2 separate regions of the Homo sapiens genome follow, and region 2 is linked to region 1. The links are contacts of gene promoters, found by promoter capture Hi-C in blood cells and fetal thymus (Javierre and others, 2016). All regions are on one chromosome and are shown on one strand. The core of a region is centred on a gene start or on the middle of the fragment in contact, and the rest is flanking DNA. Distances in the headings are between cores, read along the strand shown. Region 1 holds the start of PIP (prolactin induced protein). Region 2 holds the start of TAS2R41 (taste 2 receptor member 41).

Region 1 (5,134 bases), core at 160-2,659:
AAGTGAGAAGGACCAGGTGTAAAGACAATTTAATTGTGGGAAAAGGCTTACAAAGGAAGGTCATTGTGACCCTCACAAGCAGTGTTCTTGAGTGGATAGGACATAAACAGGGAAGAAAGCATGTGATCATGAGAACAGCTGAAGTTCTGAGTGAGCAATGACATGAATGGTGTCCAATTCAAAGAAAAGAGAAGGTAGATCCAGGAGCTGAATAAACAGACAGAGCAATTTTGAGAGATACATCCAGAAAGCAGAAGCACACACTTACACTTTAGCTCTGAATCCTGGCTAAAGCAACATACAGAGGCGGTAACTCCTAGAACTCTGATTTTCACTCTGTTGCCAGAGAGGCTCTTCCTGGGCAGCTGTGTGCCATGCAAATGATAGAAACAAATCCCATAGTATTGTAAGTCATAGGTTAAGGAGCAGATTTAATTTCATAAGGAGAAATAACACAATGCCAGTGTCAGCAAGAGCAAGTCTCCCCATCATCCCAAGGAGAGGAATTCTACAACCTGGGTATCTACTGGACATAATGTGGGCTCCATTCTCACAGAAGGAATCCTTTCCACTGTGGTTCTTCCTGTGTGGCTTACGCATGAGACAAGTGTAAGAAAGTGGCCATGTCAATAAGAAAATAAGCCAGCTCTTTGGTGCCAAGAAGTCTGATTTGGGGGTGCCAGCTATTTATAGGAATTGTCTAGAATTAAAATATCACCCTGCCTTGGGGATTGTGGGGCAGCTGGGGATCTTGGACATCTGCAGTATATTGCAACCACACCTGAAATTAAGAAGGACTCAATGACAATAAACATCTTTACATCACCCAGTGTCTTGAACTCACTTCCCCATCATGTAGAGCAGCTCAGGTCTTCTCTAGCTCTTCCACCTCATGATGGGTAGTGACTGCTAGGGAAGTCCTGATCATCCTAGCCCTCCAAGAAATGTTTTGAATAGCATTGCATCTTGAACTCACTATAATTTGATCAAGCAAAGATGTTCTATGTCTCTGGTCTGAAACCTGCCACCACAGCTGTGTTCTCTGCTTTCAGAGACCAGGGGAGCAGTGACTGAAGCTAAGACTACACATAGCACTTCAGACAGGCAAATTAGGAGGGAAAAGAAAACTGAATCTGTAAACTCGGGAAAAACTGGTGTATCTTTTGAGGTCCCAGCCATTTTGAGAAACTCTGATGCTGAAAAAATAAGGAAGAACAATCTGACTCCTCTCTCAAACGCTGACATTCTAGCTGAGTGTTGATTTTTTCTTAGAAAAACAAACTTTGGGTCAACAAGGAAAGATCACGAGTGGGGAGGGTGAATGGGTGATTCACCTCATGGATCTCCCTGGCAGCTCTTGCACTTCCTTGATCAATCTGTATATAAGAAATGTGCTGGGCACCTGGGACACCACTTCTCTGGGACACATTGCCTTCTGTTTTCTCCAGCATGCGCTTGCTCCAGCTCCTGTTCAGGGCCAGCCCTGCCACCCTGCTCCTGGTTCTCTGCCTGCAGTTGGGGGCCAACAAAGCTCAGGACAACACGTGAGCCATGCCCTTCTCCTCCCCACAAAAAAAATTGCAGGGAGGGCTCCTCTCCCAGTCTGGAAATTACATATCTCTTTCTGAGAATTTCTTTCAACTTCCCAGAACTCTAGTCCCAGGAGCTCCCATGGATCTCCTGCCAGGTTCCACTTCTTGTCCTCTTAGGAAGCCCCACCAACTCCTCTCACATTTTTGCTGGGTGTTTCTGCATTGCCAGTGGAAATAAAGCTCCAAATGTACCTACAGGCTGTAATTAGTAGTTAGTCTTCATCTAACATGCTGATCCACATCTTGTTCATAATTTATACCTTTGTTCAGATTTCTGCTCAGTAAACTTTACCTTCTCACACCTTGCCTCCTAGAAGAGAAGCATAACAGGTCTGTGAATTCCAATGGCAGCTTAGGGCAGCTTTGGCAGGACTGGCTAAAGGACCAGAGGCCCTGGCCACTGCCCTGTGGTCTGAGATTGAGCTAGACTGGCAGCTTAGACATTCTTCCTAACCTGAAGTCTGAAGATGAATATGATGACCTCTTGCTCTCACGTATACTGGGACCTGAGAGCACAGGTTCAGAAGTCAACTTATTGAGAACACATGTGTGAAGGAAGCAGAAAAATTGGAGCAAGTAAAATAAAGTAGAAAATGGAGCCAAGGGTCTGGGAGAAAGCAGCGATACCCAATCTAGGGAGTTTTCTCTATAGCAGTAGGGTTTATAATGCTGGGTTTCTGGGTTGTGATCTTGGAGGTACTCTCTATGGCATGGTCAGATATCCTGTCCTGGAGGAAACTGTTCAGGGTTTTGACAAGCTAATGTAATGGAGGCAAGTGTCCCAAGAAACCCTGCATGGGGACAGGTTCAGATCCCACCCCATTCCCGCCAGATGACAGTCCACTTAGCCCTGAAGGGCAGCAAGGTATTCAAATAAGCTATGCTAATTAGGTTATCAACCATCCATCCTGATTTGCCCAGAACTTTCCTGGTTGTAGCACTGCAACTCTGCCCTCCCCCGCCACCTCCACAACCCATTCTGGAAAAGACCTCAGTCCTGGGTAAACTGAGATGGTTAGTCACTCGAACTAAGCTGGTCATCCTATCAATCTGAAACTCATATACAAATGGGAGAGATTTTGAAGTTGCTTAGGTATTTATACCCTTTTCCTGTGCACTGGGCACTACAGCAGTTGGCACCAAAAAATAGAATCTCTCTAAGATGCTTTGCCCCAAGAAAATGGGGCTGTGAGACACTGTGGGCTAAGAATCTCAATTCCCTTCTGTCCCACACAATAACAAAGGTCCGTAGCCGGGAGTTTCTAGGGACGAGAAAATAACTCTCCTGGCCCCGAACCCAGTCCTCATTGACTGAAGAAGAACATTTGACCATTTTATTTGTCTCCATTTCCTTTCCTTTTCAGATTGCAGTGTATGGTCTAAATGTAGAGTAGTATCTAAAGTTCCCAAACATGGCCATATGTCCAAATTTCCTAAGGAGCTAAATAAATACAAATTCCTAAACCCTACCTGGGGACCACAGAAGGAGGATCTTCAAAGATGCTCCTACAAATACCTCCAGTGCATTGAGATGTTTGCTGGGTTTTTAAAATTTTTTATTATTTTATTTTATTTTTCCATAAGTTACTGGGGTACAAGTGGTATTTGGTTACATGAGTAAGTTCTTTAGTGGTGATGAGATTTTGGTGCACCCATCACCCGAGCAGTATACACTGCACCATATTTGTAGTCTTTTAGCCCTCACCCCTCTCCCACTCTTCCCCGCAAGTCCCCAAAGTCCATTGTATCATTCTTATGCTTTTGAGTCCTCAAAGCTTAGCTCCCACATATCAGTGAGAACATACGATGTTTGGTTTTCCATTACTGAGTTACTTCACTTAGAATAATAGTCTCCAATCTCATACAGGTCACTGCAAATGCTGTTAATTCATTCCTTATTATGGCTGAGTAGTAGTATTCCATCATATATATATATATATATATATATATATATATATATATATATATATATATACCACAGTTTCTTTATCCACTCGTTGATTGATGGGCATTTGGGTTGGTTCCACAGTTTTATAATTGTGAATTGTGCTGCTATAAACATGTGTGTGCAAGTATCTTTTTTGAATAATGACTTCTTTTCCTCTGGGTAGATACCCAGTAGTGGGATTGCTGGATCAAATGGTGGTTCTATTTTTAGTTCTTTAAGGAATCTCCACACTGTTTTACATAGTGGTTGTAGCAGTTTACATTCCCGTCAGCAGTATAGAAGTGTCCCCTGATCACTGCATCCACGCCAACATCTACTGTTTTATGATTTTTTGATTACGGCCATTCTTGCAGGAGTAAGGTGGTATCGCATTGTGGTTTTGATTTGCATTTCCCTGATCAAGAGGTTTGCTGGTTTAATGTGATTCTGTTGCTAGAAAATTTTCTCCTAATAATGACTTGAGCCCTCCTACTCAGTAGACAACCACCAGAGCCTGTAGGATGTTATCAGGAAGTGGCATGTGGTATTGTACATTTTTTCTTTTTAAAAACTTGTTTTTGGTCAATGGAAGGGAAGAAGATGCTCGTTCATTGATGGGCATTTGGGTTGGTTCCATGATTTTGCAATTGTGAATTGTGCTACTATAAACATGCATGTGCAAGTATCTTTTCTAAATAATGACTTCTTTTCCTCTGGGTAGATACCCAGTAGTGGGATTGCTGGATCAAATGGTAGTTCTACTTTTAGTTCTTTAAGGAATCTTAAAGTGTCCTAGTTGTTTTATTAAACAAAATTAAATCTGTGTGAAGTTACCAATCCAATCAACACATGAAAATTCCAGGGGATTCCAATGCTGAACAATTGATCCAAGCCCCATAATTTCCCTCCCTTGCCCATCCTGTGCCCCTTGCCCTGTTCATGGCTCCCCCCTCACTCAAAGATTGGTCTCTGATCCTGGTGTTCTGATTCTCTCTTCCCACAATCAGTCGGAAGATCATAATAAAGAATTTTGACATTCCCAAGTCAGTACGTCCAAATGACGAAGTCACTGCAGTGCTTGCAGTTCAAACAGAATTGAAAGAATGCATGGTGGTAAGTAGAGGACTGGGGGCGTGACTTCAAAAGATAATTCAACTCCTTGATTATAAACATAATTTAATCTCTCACTTTAATAATGTACAGTGTACTTAATGAAACATTCTCACTTATGTTATGCTACTTGAGACTCAGAACAACTGTGGGAGCTTGGGACAGATGACTTCTCATTTTCCAGATGAAGAAGTTCGAATCCAGAGAAGTCTAGGATAAATAAGAAGGAAAGGAAGAAGGAATAGGAAGTGAGAAAGAGGGAAAAAGAAAAAAGTGTAAGAGCTAGTAGAGAAGCAGTTAGAGTCCTTCCAAGGTCCTGAGCATGTTTAGTTTAGGATGGAGGGAGGGGAGTTCTCAGAAGAGAAAGCAGCAACTCCACACCATAGGTTGAGGTGGGTGGGCAGAAGAGGACATGCAGGATATGACTCCTCCTCTCCAGTAAGCACTGAGCGACTCTACTGTCCTCTTGCCTTCTTCTGCTCCTTTGCTCTGGGTCACCAGAAGT
Region 2 (5,623 bases), core at 1,626-4,125, 350 kb after region 1:
ACTAAAGCCATCTTGACCAAAAAGAACACAGCTGTATGTATCACACTACTGTATTTCAAAATATATTACAAAATGATAGCAATCAAAACAGCATGGTTCTGGCAAAAAAACAGACACATTGACCAATGGAGTAGGATTGAAAGCCCGTGTATAAAACTACACTTCTGTGGTCAATTGATTTTTGACAAAGTGCCAAGAATACACAATGGGGAAAAGATAGTCTCCTCAATAAATGAGGTTGGGAAAACTGGGTATCCACATGCAGAAGAATGAAATTTCATCCTCTTCTTACACTACATGCAAAGTTAAATCAAAATAGATTAAATATTTAAATGCAAGACCTGAAATCATAAAACTCTTAGAAGGACACATAGGAAAAGAGCTTCTTGACACTGGTTTGGGTAATGACTTATAGAAAACTACACCTAAAGCACAGGCAAAAATTCAGCTAAATAAACATAGACAAATGGGATTGCATCAAAATAAAAAGCTGCAAAGCCAAGAAAACAACCAGCAGAATGGAAATTGGGAGAAAATATTTGTAAACAACATATCTAATAGGTGTTAATTTCCAAAATATATAAGGAACTTTGGCTGGGTGCCCTGGCTCACGCCTGTAATCTTGACATTTTGGGAGGCCAAGGCAGAAAGATTGCATGAGCCCAGTAGTTTGAGACTAGCCTGAGCAACATAGTGAGACTCTGTCTGTACAAAAAATAAAAAAAATTAACCGGGTGTGGCAGTGCATGCCTTTAGTCCCAGATACCTGGAAGGCTGAGGTGGGGAAGATTGGATCATCCTTCCTACCTTGAGGCTCCAGTGAGCTGTAATGGTGCCACTGCGCTCCAGCCTGGGTGGCAGAGTGAGACCCCGTCTGAAATAAATAAATACAAATAATAAAAATACAAGGAACTTATTCAACTGTAGTGCAGAAATAAACAAAAAACATAAATAACCTGATTTTAAAATGGGCAAAGGACCTGAATAACATCTCTCAAAAGAAGACAAAAATCGTTCATGAAAATATGTTTAATATCACAAATCACCTGAGAAATGCAAATCAAAACCACAATGAGGTATCATCTTACATGTGTTAGAATGGCTGTTACCAAAAAGATGAAGGATAACAAGTGTTGGCAAAAATACAGAGAAAAGCAGCTCTTTCAGTCTGTTGACAGGAATATAAATTATGGAAAACACTATAAAGATTTCTCAGAAAATTAAAAACAGACCTACCTTATCCAGTAATTCCACTTTTAGGTGTATATGCAAAGGAAATGAAACTAGTATTTTGAAGAGATATCTGCACTCCCATGTTCATTGAAAATTATTCACAATAGCCAAGACATGGAAACAATCTAAAAGCCCATTAACAGATGAATGAACAAAGAAAATGTGGTGTGCATACACAATGGAATATGATTCAGTCTTAGAAAAGGCGATTCTGCCATTTGCAACAACGTAGATGGAACTGGAGGACATTATGCTATGTGAAATGCTCCAGAGACAGAAATACATATATTGTACGATCTCACTTACATGTGGAATCTGAAAAAACAAACCCACAGAAGTAGAGAGTAGATTGGTGGTTGCCAGGGTTCTGGAAGGGGAAATGGGGAGATATTGGTCAAGGGGTATGAAGTTTCAGTTATGCTAAGTGAACATGCTTTGGAAACCTAAGGTATGGTAGTATGAGTATAGTAAACAATACTGCACTGTATACTTGAACTTTCATGAGAGGGTAGATCTTAAGTGTTCTCACTACACATGAAGAAATTGAAAACAGGAATTATGTGAGGTGATAGATATATTTTAAAAGAAAATATTTTTACTTTCAACATGGTCTCATAGGGACTTCTTTTTGATGTTGGTGTTAGACAGGACTCACATATGCCTCGGGTATCTCAGGGTGGCAGACAGACTGTAAAGTGGCCCTGCCTGTCCCTCAACCCTGGTGTTGGGCCTTTGTGTAACCTCCTTCTTTTGAGTGTTGTTGGTGACAGTGACTTGCTTCTAGCCAATAGACTATGGCAAAGGTGATAGGCTGTCACTCCAATGATTGTGTTATGTTATTTAAGACCCCATCTTGTTAGCAGACTCCCTTTAGAGACTGCTGACTTGACGTGAGTGGCCATGCTGAAACAGCTTACCTGGCAGAGACTGTGAGAGGCCTCTAGGACCAGAGAGCAGTCTCCCACCAACACCCAGGAAGAAACAGGGGCTCTCAGTCCTGCTTCGGAAGGCCCCTCAACCACATGATAATGAATTCTCTCACTGGAAATACAAAACCCGTTTACACCATTATCATTTACATCTCAGGATTCATGGAGGATCTAAGTAGAGATCTGGATGGAGAGGTAGACGAAGTGTTTGATTTTGAAGCGATTTGTGGGCAAAGGCAGTAAGGTAAGCATGGATGTGTAACAGGGAAGTACTGAGACAGAATTCTTTGATGTCACTATTTTTCCTGTGTATCTCCTATACTTGTCTCTATATTTAAAGTCTTAAGAATGTTCTGATGGGAAGAGGAGTGTTCATACGGCCTGAGGATGGAACTCAGTCACAGAGACCCAGAAAAATCATAGACATTGATACTAACCATGGCAGCATGCAGGAAAACTGGACAAGGCAAATTAGGGTAATTTGCAGGCCTAGTGGTAACTGACACTAGGATAAATTTGCATCCTGTCTGAGCCAAGAGCACACCTCTCCTCTTTAGCCTGAGCATCCTCCTCTCTAAGTGAGCTCTGGTTCAGATGCAGAGCCTGACCACTCTTTAGCACTCCTAGGAAAGATTAAAAACAGGACTGTGGCTAGGGGCAGGGAGGAGGCCAGGGACCAAGGCACTCAAGTGGGGACTGCAGGAGGGGTCAGAATGCAAGCAGCACTGACGGCCTTCTTCGTGTTGCTCTTTAGCCTGCTGAGTCTTCTGGGGATTGCAGCGAATGGCTTCATTGTGCTGGTGCTGGGCAGGGAGTGGCTGCGATATGGCAGGTTGCTGCCCTTGGATATGATCCTCATTAGCTTGGGTGCCTCCCGCTTCTGCCTGCAGTTGGTTGGGACGGTGCACAACTTCTACTACTCTGCCCAGAAGGTCGAGTACTCTGGGGGTCTCGGCCGACAGTTCTTCCATCTACACTGGCACTTCCTGAACTCAGCCACCTTCTGGTTTTGCAGCTGGCTCAGTGTCCTGTTCTGTGTGAAGATTGCTAACATCACACACTCCACCTTCCTGTGGCTGAAGTGGAGGTTCCCAGGGTGGGTGCCCTGGCTCCTGTTGGGCTCTGTCCTGATCTCCTTCATCATAACCCTGCTGTTTTTTTGGGTGAACTACCCTGTATATCAAGAATTTTTAATTAGAAAATTTTCTGGGAACATGACCTACAAGTGGAATACAAGGATAGAAACATACTATTTCCCATCCCTGAAACTGGTCATCTGGTCAATTCCTTTTTCTGTTTTTCTGGTCTCAATTATGCTGTTAATTAATTCTCTGAGGAGGCATACTCAGAGAATGCAGCACAACGGGCACAGCCTGCAGGACCCCAGCACCCAGGCTCACACCAGAGCTCTGAAGTCCCTCATCTCCTTCCTCATTCTTTATGCTCTGTCCTTTCTGTCCCTGATCATTGATGCCGCAAAATTTATCTCCATGCAGAACGACTTTTACTGGCCATGGCAAATTGCAGTCTACCTGTGCATATCTGTCCATCCCTTCATCCTCATCTTCAGCAACCTCAAGCTTCGAAGCGTGTTCTCGCAGCTCCTGTTGTTGGCAAGGGGCTTCTGGGTGGCCTAGATGGCATGGTTTCCTTATCTAGACCCCCGGAAAAGAAAGGTGAGGATGGCAGAGCTGTGGCCCACTGACATGGAGGTGTTTTCATAGGTAGATGAATACTGGGTACTGTTATGGGGCTCCTCCTCTGGGAAGCGGAGGAGACAAGGAAATCTGGGAACTCTCTGAGCATGCTTCCCTTCTTTGGAATGTTATAAAGATGCAGTCCCATGGATCCCAGAGAGCCAGTATTGCCCAGAAGTTCAGAATATGTTAATATGATGTCGTGCTACTCCTTACGTTTGTACCCCTTTGTTATCTGGAAGGCTTCGATTAAAAGTGTTGATTAACTGTGCCATCGCATCTCCACTGCCTTTCAGAAAGTTAAGAGCAAATATTTGCCTCTATGGCTGAACTGAGATGTGGATAGTGAAGCGACAGCCTTCTTGAGGACAAATGTCATGGTTACTACGAGAGCCCCAAGGGACAGGCAGTTGTGGCAGGCAGTGGCCTGGGCTGTGAGTTCTGATTGCCCTTTACTGCATGAAGATACTTTGTCTCCACACAAACTTGGATAATCTGGTTTTAATTTTATTAAGTTTACTGGAAGGTTTCTTTACACCACCCAGTTTCTTTTCTCATTAACATTTCTGACTTCAATTTTCTCTTCTCTGAAGTCTGAGTAGTAGCCAGACTTTTTTCTTGTTTATCATTCCTTTAGAAAAAGACACATTGTGACTTTCTTGTCTTCCTCAAGCATATGTCACAGAGTCACATCTGCATTGAATAAACATGTACTTTTCAATCTGAAAAACAGACTCAGGAATTTCACTGGACTGGGAGTGGTGACGTCCGTAATCCCAACACTTTGGGAAGCTGAGTCAGGCAGACTGCTCGAGCTCAGGAGTTCAAGAGCAGCCTGGGCAAGATAGCGAGACCTCCTCTCCACTAAAAATTCAAAAAAATCAGCCAGGTGTGGTGGTGTGCACCTGTGGTCCCAGCTACTCGTGAGTCTGAGGTGGGAGGATCACTTGAGCTCAGGAGATAGAGGCTGCGGTGAGCTGTGATCACTGTACTCCAGCCTGGGCAACAGAGTGAGACCGTCTTAAAAAAAATTCATTAGTTTGTATCTAAAAACTACTTAAATATTGTTTTAAAAAGAACCACCCTGTTCAAAATTTTACGTTTAAATACTGTTTTAAAAATAACTTGCTCCAATTACTATGCAAATGATTTTAGAAATACTTTTGGAAAACATTTTATTTAGAGATGAGTGCCTCTAAGATAGCTTAAACGTTTTTGCTAAAGGGCATCAATGTGCAAATTTCAGAGACAAGCTTGCAGCTGAATCCCTGATAGGGAGAAATTGTAATTTCCTCTAAGAGTGAAGACTTTGATTAGGGGATGTACTGATGAGTGGATGAACACTCATGAACAATAATCTTTGGGCACCTGGCTCTACATTTTTAATTTAAGCATTTATTTTTAAAAATACCTAATATATTTTCATGGCTGAAAATTCAAAACCTATTGAAGAGTATGTATAGAAAATCTCCCTCTTATCTGTTCCGTCCTGAGGCATTCTTACCAGTTTTATGTCTATCCTTGTAGAGATATTTTATTCTATCAGAAAGCCACTAATACCTAATGAACCAGTCAACTAACTTATGCACTGGTATATTCTATACTAGTACCTAACTAGCTACCAATCAAATAACTTATAATGTCTCCATCTTTCCATACAATGGTTGCAGAATACACACATTGTCCTGCCCCTTGCTCTTTTCACCTTATAACATATCTTGGAGAGCTATGTAAGTGGATATGCATAGTATTTCCTCACTTGTA

What was found. Contacts are between HindIII fragments. The CHiCAGO score rates a contact against its expected background, and 5 or more counts as called.
Region 2: the fragment with the promoter of TAS2R41 here is called in contact with the fragment with the promoter of PIP in region 1 in 2 of 17 cell types (monocytes and neutrophils); the score reaches 7.7 in monocytes.

The regions. Positions count from the first base shown.
Region 1 is chr7:143,130,668-143,135,801 of GRCh38, forward strand. It overlaps PIP (prolactin induced protein), which reads left to right and starts at 1,410. Exons shown (of 4, transcript NM_002652.3): 1 at 1,410-1,544; 2 at 4,527-4,632. The coding sequence starts at 1,450. The HindIII fragment of the contact is 4,172 bases long and covers 1-3,365 here.
Region 2 is chr7:143,474,998-143,480,620 of GRCh38, forward strand. TAS2R41 (taste 2 receptor member 41) reads left to right here and starts at 2,876. Exons shown (of 1, transcript NM_176883.2): 1 at 2,876-3,799. The coding sequence starts at 2,876. The coding sequence ends at 3,799. The region is part of intron 2 of EPHA1-AS1 (EPHA1 antisense RNA 1); the gene reads left to right. The HindIII fragment of the contact is 17,498 bases long and covers 1-3,740 here.